Linked DNA regions of Homo sapiens: region 1 is linked to region 2. The links are contacts of gene promoters, found by promoter capture Hi-C in blood cells and fetal thymus (Javierre and others, 2016). All regions are on one chromosome and are shown on one strand. Each heading gives the region's core, a stretch centred on a gene start or on the middle of the fragment in contact. The rest is flanking DNA. Distances are from core to core; before and after follow the strand shown.

Evidence for each region. The method cuts DNA at HindIII sites, captures the fragments that hold promoters and counts their contacts. A CHiCAGO score of 5 or more calls a contact.
Region 1: a contact is called between a fragment that was not itself captured here and the fragment with the promoter of B3GNT5 in region 2, in 2 of 17 cell types (M2 macrophages and erythroblasts). The highest score is 5.2, in M2 macrophages.

Annotation. Positions count from the first base shown.
Region 1 is chr3:183,404,464-183,409,432 of GRCh38, forward strand. All of the region lies in intron 1 of MCF2L2 (MCF.2 cell line derived transforming sequence-like 2), which reads right to left. Among named protein-coding and RNA genes, the nearest start is that of MCF2L2, 22 kb to the right of the region's middle. The HindIII fragment of the contact is 5,697 bases long and covers 1-4,944 here.
Region 2 is chr3:183,251,635-183,256,236 of GRCh38, forward strand. It overlaps B3GNT5 (UDP-GlcNAc:betaGal beta-1,3-N-acetylglucosaminyltransferase 5), which reads left to right and starts at 1,619. Exons shown (of 2, transcript NM_032047.5): 1 at 1,619-1,838. The region is part of intron 15 of MCF2L2 (MCF.2 cell line derived transforming sequence-like 2); the gene reads right to left. LOC124906310 (a long non-coding RNA gene) reads left to right here. Exons shown (of 3, transcript XR_007096189.1): 3 at 901-921. The HindIII fragment of the contact is 12,746 bases long and covers 1,097-4,602 here.

The DNA of each region.
Region 1 (4,969 bases), core at 846-3,345, 150 kb after region 2:
CTGTTGATGGGTGTAAGTTTCCCAGAAGGCAATCTGACCAAAACGTATTTAAAAACTTCACACTTACACTCTCTAATCCAATAATATTTTCTAGAATTCTACTTGTAAAACAATATGGGCTGGGCGTGGTGGCTCACGCCTGTAATCCCAGCACTTTGGGAGGCCGAGATGGGTGGATCACGAGGTCAGGTGTTCGAGACCAGCCTGGCCAACATGGTGAAACCCCGTCTCTACTAAAAATACAAAAAAATTAGCCGGGCATGGTGGTGGGCGCCTGTAATCCTAGCTACTCGGGAGGCTGAGGCAGAAGAATCACTTGAACCTGGGAGGCGGAGGTTGCAGTGAGCCGAGATCTTGCCACTGCACTCTAGCCCAGGCGACAGTGCAAGACTCCATCTCAAAAACAGAAAGAAAAAAAAAATCTGAAATGTGTGCAAAAATTTCTGACTAAAGATGCTCCTTGCATCTTAAAAATAACATTGGGAAACTGGGAATAACCTATATGAACAACGTAATTTATGGTGAAATCATGTAGCAAAAAATTATAAAGCCGTTAAAATATTATCTATGGAGATGTCTTAATAGAATTTACAATATAATTGAATGTACAGTATAGTTTTCATAAGCAGAATATAATCTATATAATTCTATCTGTAATATGTATTATACATATAAAGAAAGCTAGATCATATAATCTTAACTATGTAAAAATGCCAAAGGAACAAAAAGCTAGAGAGATATAGCTCAAAAGGTAACTGATTATTATTAGAAAATGGGATTATAGACTTTCTTTCTTGTACTTTTCTGTATTTTCCAAATATTGAACAATGAGCATGTATTATTTTTTCTGTATTGTTTTTGTTTGCTAATTCTTCTTAAATTTGTTTTTTTAACCAATAGTATAAGTCACTCTTTTGGGAATACAGTTCTATGAGTTTTGACAAATGCATGGAGTCGTTTAAGCATCGACACAATCAGGATACAATATAGTTGATTGCCCCTGTGAGTCAAACCACTCACCCACCCTTAACCCCTGGAAATCACTGCATTCCTATAGTTTTACCTTTTCCCAGTATCATAGAAAGATTAGTATGTACCTTTTGAATCTGACATCTTTATCTTAGCATAATATATTTCAGATGTATTCATATTATCATCTGTATCAATAAATCATTTCATTATTGAATATGCCACTGGACAGATGTACCTCAGTTTATCAATTCTCCAGGTGAGGGACACCTGGGTTGTTTCCAGTTTCATTTTGTATTTTTTAGACAGGGTCTCACTCTGTCGCCCAGTTGGAGTGCAGTGGCGTGATCTTGGCTCACTGCAACCTCCGCCTCCCGACTTCAAGCAATCCTCATGCCTCAGCCTCCCCAGTAGCTGGGGTTATAGGCGCAAGCCACCATGCCCAGCTAATTTTTGTATTTTTAGCAGAGACAGGGTTTTACCATGCTGGCCAGGCTGTCTCGAACTCCTGACCTTAAGTGATCTGCCTGCCTCAGCCTCCCAAAAGTGCTGGGATTACAGGCGTGAGCCACCACCACACCTGGCCCTGCTTCTAGGTTTTACTGATTAAGAATAAAGCTGCTATAAATATTCATGAACAGATTTTTGAGTGACCGTGAGTTTTCATTTTCTTGGGTTGCGATTACTGAGTCGTATATTAAATGTATGTTTAACTTTATAAGACACTGCCAACTGTTTTCCAACATGGCTGTACCATTTTACATTCCTACCAACAGTGCGTGTAAGATATCCAGTCCCTTGTCATCTTCACCATGTCTTGGTATCGTCATTTTTTTTAGTCACTCTAACAGGTACACAATTTCACTGATGACTACTGATATTGAGCATATTTTCATGTGTTTTTTGCCATCTGTATATCTTATATCTTCCTTGATAAAGTATCCATTCAAATCTTTTGCCCATTTTTAAATTGGGTCATTTGAGTATTTTATTACTCAGCTTGAGAGTTCTTTTTATACATTCTGGATCGAGTCCTTTGTCAGATATGCTATTCACAAGTCTTGGTTTTTTTTGAGACAGAGTTTTGCTCTTGTTGTCCAGGCTGGAGTGCAGTAGCACAATCTCGGCTCACTGCAACCTCTGCCACCCGGGTCCAAGCGATTCTCCTGCCTCAGCCTCCCGAGTAGCTGAGATTACAGGCGCCTGCCACCATGCCCAGCTAATTTTTGTATTTTTAGTAGAGACGGGGTTTCACCACATTGGCCAGGCTGGTCTCGAACTCCTGACCTCAGGTGATCCACCCACCTTGGCCTCCCAAAGTGCTGGGATTACAGGCGTGAGCCACCACACCCAGCCTATTCACAAATCTTTTTTCCCCAGATGGTGGGTTGTCTTTTCATTCTCTTAACAGTATTTTTTGCAGAGAAAAAAAAATGTCAACGTTACCAAAATCTAACTTAAATCAAATTTCTCTTATGAACCAGACTTTTGGTCTTTGTGACCAACTAAGGTCACAAAGATTTCCTCCTATGTTTTCTAACAGATTTTTTATTAGGTTTTACATTTAGGTCCATGATCCACTTTGAGTGAATTTTTCTATATGGGGTGAGGTATACATAAGGATTCAATTGTTTTGCACACAGATGTCTAATTGTTCCAGCACCATTTGTTGAAATTGCCACTACATCATACTCCACTGAACTGCCTTTATACCTTTGTCAAAAATCATTTGGCCATATTTGTATGATACTATTCTGGAATATCTCCTCTGCTCCATTGATCTATATGTCTATCCTTTTGCCAATACCACACTGTCGTGATTACTTTGCTTTAAAGTAAGTTTTAAAATTAGGTAATGTGAGTCCTCCAAATGTACTCTTTTAAAAAAAAATTGTTATTATAGTTCTTTTTGCCTACTATAGTATCTCTTTTAGCTGATTCTCAATTTCTACAAAAATATACAATAGATTTTTTATTGAAGTCGTGTTTAATTCATGGATCAATTTGGGAAGAATTGACATCTTGAGTCTTCCAAACCTTAAATATGGATGATATGTTAGTTTTATAAACAGAGGTTTTGAAACCCTTATGAAATATCACATAATGCTCATTCTCCTCCCTCTTTCTTCTGCTTCTTTTTTAGATTCTACTGCAAAGCCACAGAAAATGACCAGGAAACATGATCTTTCTTTTTAAAATCTGGGTCAGTTTTCCCAAGGCACTGAGGGAGAAAATGGTCACCTCACATATGAGGTTTGTGTAGTGGAATTTTCCTTCTCATTTCTGCAGAATATGTCAAGGTCTAAAATCCCATTTCACAGCCTGCGGGCTTGTTCCTCCTTTGCAAGCAAGGCTAGAGGTATAAATATTGCAATAGAAATAAAATGGAATGAAGAATAGGAGGATGAGAATGCAAGAGTTCATAAGGCCTGTCATTCTAGTCTAGGTCCTGCACCAAACCCTCTTCACGGCGGGGGAGAAAAAAGAGGAAAGAGAAAGATGCTATGGGGTATGGGAGGTGCCAGTAAATTGGTGAGGGTAAGGGCCTGTGAAACCCTGAGGGCTAGGGTGGCCAGGGGACACTTTTGACACAAAGATGCCTCCGGCTCCATTTCAAAGTGTCTGTGTTGCTAGACGGTAAACATTTGCTCTCCCATCTTCGGAAAATTACCTTGTCCCCCCCAATCTTCTGTGTGCATGATTTTTGAGACACTGGGAGAAAGAGCTGGATTTCACAACTAAACCAACCAAGTGCAAAAGAAAGGCAGCCACTGTGAAAACTGGAGCCCAGAGTAGAGAGGCCAGGAGACCACAACATCAGCCCAACAATGAAAGAGAACCCTGGGGAGGCTTGGGACTCCACGAGCGACCTGGGAATGATGGCTAACTTTGCCTAAATACTGTCTTATGTTTGCTTAATGTCTACCTCCCCATTAGACCGCAGGCTCCAGAAGGACATTCCTTCATTCCTCCTGGCCCCCATTACACCTGAGGAGCTGCGCAGGATGCTGCGGCTGCAGCAGTGGAGGTGGTGGCCTGGTTCTGGCCCCTAGGGACCTATGGCCATGGGCAGGGGTTATCCCCACTCCTTCATATCCCATCCTTAGACCTGGCCCAGTGCCCAGCTCCCGCAGGCCTTCATGAAATATGGTTAGTCTTAAATTGGGGATTAAAGAGGAGAAACAGGCAGAAGGACCTCTTTCCCCACAGCAATTTAATTAATTCTAGCTTCCCAGGGTATTGAAAGAGAAAGCTAAAATGAATGTGAACTGATCTAACAATAGGTAGAAAAAAACAGACACACAATCCAAAACCTGGGCTGGACAGGTTCAGTTCAAATAACTGAACAAAGAAATCCAGAGGCAACTCTTCTAAGCCTCTGTGCTCATTTTGAACACCTGTAGTTTGTCCACATGCATACAGTTTGTACTTATAACTCCCTCACAGTAAAGTCCTCTAAATACAGAAAGTCTTCTATACTAAATAAAAGTGCATAGTGGTGCTGCCACCTTGCCATGATAATGGGAGGTTATAACTTTATTAGATTATTAGACTTTTTGTTTGTTTAAGACTCTAGTGCTTAGCATGGGAAATGCAATTAGGCAAACATTTCTTCCTTAACAGGCTTATTATCCTTATTTAAGAATTATGTATGTATTATTTCTGCATGTTTAAAGACTACAAAGTAAATCCTCTAGCTTTAGCTAACAGTTTTTCTTTGGAAGAAAGTGACTATTAATAAGCCAACTTTTCGAGTGGCTCATAAAATACTTAAGATTCAGGGATTAATGCTTTCATTTTCTATTTGATTTTTTCAAAAGATTTTTCAAAACTCAGTAATAGCACTTTGTCATTTACTGGTTTATATATCACTTTGTCATGGGAAATTAAAGCAAATGTGAGCATTCAAATGCCTCAAAGCCAGCCAGACCTGACTTTTGATTCTGACGTTTCCTCTTGCTATGACCTTGGGCAAGCTTCCTAACCTGCTTAAGCCTCA
Region 2 (4,602 bases), core at 369-2,868:
ATTATTACCTAAGTTTATTTCTAACACATCTCAATATCTTCATGCACTCCCTCTTGATAAAAGTAACTGAGCATAGCACCATCAATACCATCAAATCTGTCATTCTCTTCCCCTCTCTCTGGGTGGGACAGGAAGCCAGGCTGCTCTAGGAAATCTTCCCTAACAAGCAAAGGGGACTTGCCTGTCCTCTCGCATGTGTGATCTGAGCTTGTGTGGATCCCAGAGTGGGCATTCTGGACTACTTGACCTTGCCTATCTCTCCTTCACACCCTCTCATCTCTCCCTCCTACCACCAAAAAACTTGCATCGTATTTCCAATCTCCAGACATACTTTTGAAACCATTTATCTATCTGGTGTGTTTATCTGTATCTAGTATGATGTGAATATGTGATTTGTATGTGTGTCTACCACTGTTTTGGTCAGTTTGTATTTCTCGTGGGTACAGTTCTATGTGCTCATGTATGTGGAACATATGTATACTGACACATGGACCTAGCTCCAAATGATCTGAAAGGAATATAATTGTAATTGAATATTTGCACAGATATACAACATACACATGTGATGGCTGGGGGAAATGCATGTGGGATTTCAGTCAGCATTTTATTAGAGAAGGTATGTCATTAGTGCTGTATTAACAATGAATCAGCTTATTTGTGGGTCACTGTCAATGACTCCTTTGCAAATCACACATGTAAATATTTCTGTCTGTGGTCTGATGAACATGCAGTGCCACAGTCTGGGAGATGCTGAGCCATGCCCTGTGTAGGCAGCATATGAAAAGAACTGCATGATTTAAAAGATGCTGACCAGCTTAAGGAAAGCAATTTAAAAACTTCCTAAAAATCTAGTTTGAATGAACAACAGTTTTCATTTTGTGTGTGTGTTTTTTCTTTTAGAGATGGGGTCTTGCTATGTTGGCCACGCTGGTCTCTAACTCCTGGGATCAAGCAATCCTCCTGCGGCTCAGCCTCCCAAAGTGATGGGATTACAGGTGTGAGCCACCGTGTCTGCTGGCCCCACTGTTTTAAACCCTGATTCGACAATCATACATTTAACTCATTACCTGTCTTGTTCCTTTTACGACAAACTCAAAGCTTTTATTTTACTAAAGTATTTGGGTTAATCTTTTGCTTTTCTGTCATGTTCTGAAATATGTACAATAACAGAATCGCTCAAAATATTATCTCCGTTAAATGTTTTGTGGCTTTAGGGAGAGGTCTAACAACATGCGGGAAACAAGAAATCAAGCGCATCCAGGATTCATTTATAATCTCTCTCGTTGAGTAGAAGTCCGCATCTCTCGATATTGTCTGGTTACCTGCATGAAGTATTCTAAAGGAGGAAAATAGCTCAAAGAGGACATTCATGTGCACTCTGGCTTCCAGTTGGCCATTTGAGTAAGTGATCGCAATTAACTGACGAGCGGCAGGGAAACACTTCCTGGAATTCTCATCTACAGACAAGAACAAACTGGGGCGGGGCCCATCACCTTCACCTACGCGCCGGGAGGGTGGCGGCTGGCGGGCGGGGCCGGGCTCGGGCCGTGACGCCGAGAGTGCGGGGCGCGCGGCTGGGAGCCTCGCGCCCCCGCCCGGGCCCGCCCCCATCCCGCCCGCATACAGCCCGCATCCCGCCGGGGAAGCGAGCCCAGTCCAGCGCTGCCCGTCCAGTCCTCGCCCAAGATTTAAAGCCCGCAAGTTTTGTTCTTGAGACCAGCGACTTTAGCTCCGATGCGGGAAGGAAAGCCGACCTCCGATTTGGACATTTAAAGAGCTGGGCTTGAACTTCGTGAGTTTCGCTCTAAACTGCCCTTGAAATGAAGCTGGACTTGGAGGTAAAGTCACTGGGAAGCTGGCCTGGGGCGGGGTTTCCCCCTCTTCTCGTATTTTAGAAACGGACAGCGGCAGTGCAGCCCTAGTTTGCTGTAAGTTTCCTTACTTTGTTACTGAGGCCCCCAGAGCTCCACGCATAAGTGGTGTGACCAGAAACCTTTTAACAAGACCCGCCTGAGCCTGCGTTAGAGCTCCCGCTCGGAAAGTAAAAGACCATCCTAATCCGCGGCGCTGCGGAACCGGTGTCCCGTGTGGGAGGAACCGCGGCGTTCCCTGGGCGTAGGGCCCGCGAGGCCAGCACAGTCCGCCTCTTGGCGGAGCGCCCTGGGCCGGTGGTTCCGCGCGGAGTTAGTCTGTGGTCAGTTACGTGGTGAAAACACGGCTGTGCCGCGGCCGCATCTTTCCGCGGCCGAGGCCTCTCTGGGTGGGAGTGTTGGCTTCCTTTCCGGATCGCTAAATGGGGAAAGTTCTGGCCGCTCGGCGGGATACGTCTCCAGGCCACGGATGGTTCGTTCTCCGTGCCGCGGCCCCGAGCTGGGCTCCCTGGGTCTCCAGCGCGGGCTCCCGGCATTGGGGGCTGCGGGCCGGCCCCTCCGCCCCGCCCCCGCCCCGCCGCGCCTCCTCGGCCGAGCGGCTCGCGGTCTCCGGCGCGGGAGGCTCCGAGTCTGCCCACTCCGGGCCGAGCGAGGTCTCTGGAGGAGAAGAGTGGCGAGGAGGTGAGGGCACGCCGGCCCTCGCCCGGCGGGTGGCGCCAGGACTTCAGGTGGGAACGCGCGCTTGGGCCGGGGGCGCGTGGCTGGCGTGGACACCGGATCGGGGCCCGCCGCCCTGGCCCGGACCGCGCACGGCCCAGCGCCGGGAAGTCGGGAAGCCGGGGAGGCCTCTCCCACCGCGGGCCCCGGCAGCCCGCCCTCTGAAAGCGCGGCGGAGAAGGAGGCTCGTCCCCTCCCCGGAACGCCTTTGTTCCCTCCGGCCTGCCCGCGCGGGTGGCCAGCGGCTGGGACCCAGGCCGGGCCGCCGCCCAGGTGCGGCAGGTAGGCTCGGGGGCCGGGCAGCTCCGGTTGGGGCGGCTTCCCGGGGCCTGCGGGTCCCCGTCCCTGAGGAGCTCCGGCTCCTCGGTGGCGGGACAGGCCCGTGCGCGGGAGCCGCGAGGCGAACGCCGCGCCCACCAATTCGGTTGCCGGCCGGGGGCCCCAGGCTTGCGGCCACCCGCCTCCGGCTGGAGGGCTGAATTCGAGTCGAAAGCCCGTGTCGGGCTGGAAAGAAGAAACCGCCAACCTGAGAACGCTTTCGGCGAGTTACTGGCGGGGGAAATGGGGACAGGGAAGTGGGCAGGCGGGGAGACTGCAGCCGCAGATCTCCCTGGCGGGGAGGTCGTGGCCACTCTTTCCTTTGACTCTGCCTCATTTCATTTTGAATCCTGATGTGACAGAGGCAATTGCTTGCTTGGATACCATATAGGTAAAAGTAACAGTTTTCAACTCGACTCTTGACTACACCCTGTACATTCTTGGCCGGTGTTGGTTTTCTTAGGTTATGGATCATGTTAAAGGTACACCGATGTGGTAACCGCACAGTGGCCGATGGTGGCCTGAGGCTCATATTTATGGTAATTATCTGATGAAAGTACATCCATCAGAATTGGATTTGTGCGTCTGTGCCTTTATTTTGGGAAACCTTGCCTGTTCCCTGTGGGGGATGGGAGAGGAATGTGAAAAGCCGAAGTTGACCCAGAAAAGGATGATTGAAGGTAGTTGTATTAAGTGGTGGCACCGAAATGATTCCACCCTGAACTTTCTGAAAGGGTGATTAGTGATCAGCAGCAGACGTTATAACTTTCTCAAAATAAATTTATGGTAGATTTTCTATCTGGTCACAAGTGAGGAGGTGAAAGCTGCTTTTTGGGGCCAACTCTTTGCTTTTAAAGCAAGCTAAACGCAATACCAGAAAGGTTTCCATTCTGTACTTAACCTGCTTGTCCTTCTCACTCTTCCTTATCCTCCCGCACACGCTCTGAGCATTGACTGAGCACTCTGAGGAGGAGGCTGACTCAGGCTGACCCTTCCCGGCCCTGCAAGGCTCTAAGGTAGAACCAGTGTTATCACAGGAAAGGCCCAAGCCAAAGCTCAGAGCAGCTGTTCCTGAGAAAGTGGGAGATGAGGATGAGTAGGAGGTAGAGATGCTTATAACTGCTCTGCCCAGAGAAAACTCAGAAGGTGCAGAAGAGTTTTCAAAATAAAGTGCAGGCCCCATCAAGTAAAAAATGAAACATTGTATTTCATTAAAATGGTGATCAGTTTTCTCTTTTCATAAAAGACATTCAAATGGTGAGATTGTAAAAAAAAAAAAAAAGAAAAAGAAAACTTTCTAATTCTCAAAAATAGAACAGCTTGAATAATAACTCATGGGTTTTGAAATGGGTCATCTTTTAAAATGGGTCACTTTGGCTAGAATCATTGCACTTGGTGACTTTCACATTGTAAAGGGTCCAGTTCTTTCTGAGGCCCAATTGCACTAGAATCTGCATTTCAGAACACAGGAGGTATCAGGAAGAAACTGGGAGAAATTCAGAGGGAAATTGTCTCTTCTCAGAGTAACAAAATGTCCCCTATTCAGGGGGAATTTTATATATGCTGAAGTAAATAGATCTCAGCTTTGAATTTTTATAATACATTATGCCTTTTCTGAAATATTTCCATAGCCATTATTTTAATGCATTGTTAGAATAACCTTGTAAGGAGAGGAATTCATTGTATCTGTGTTCCA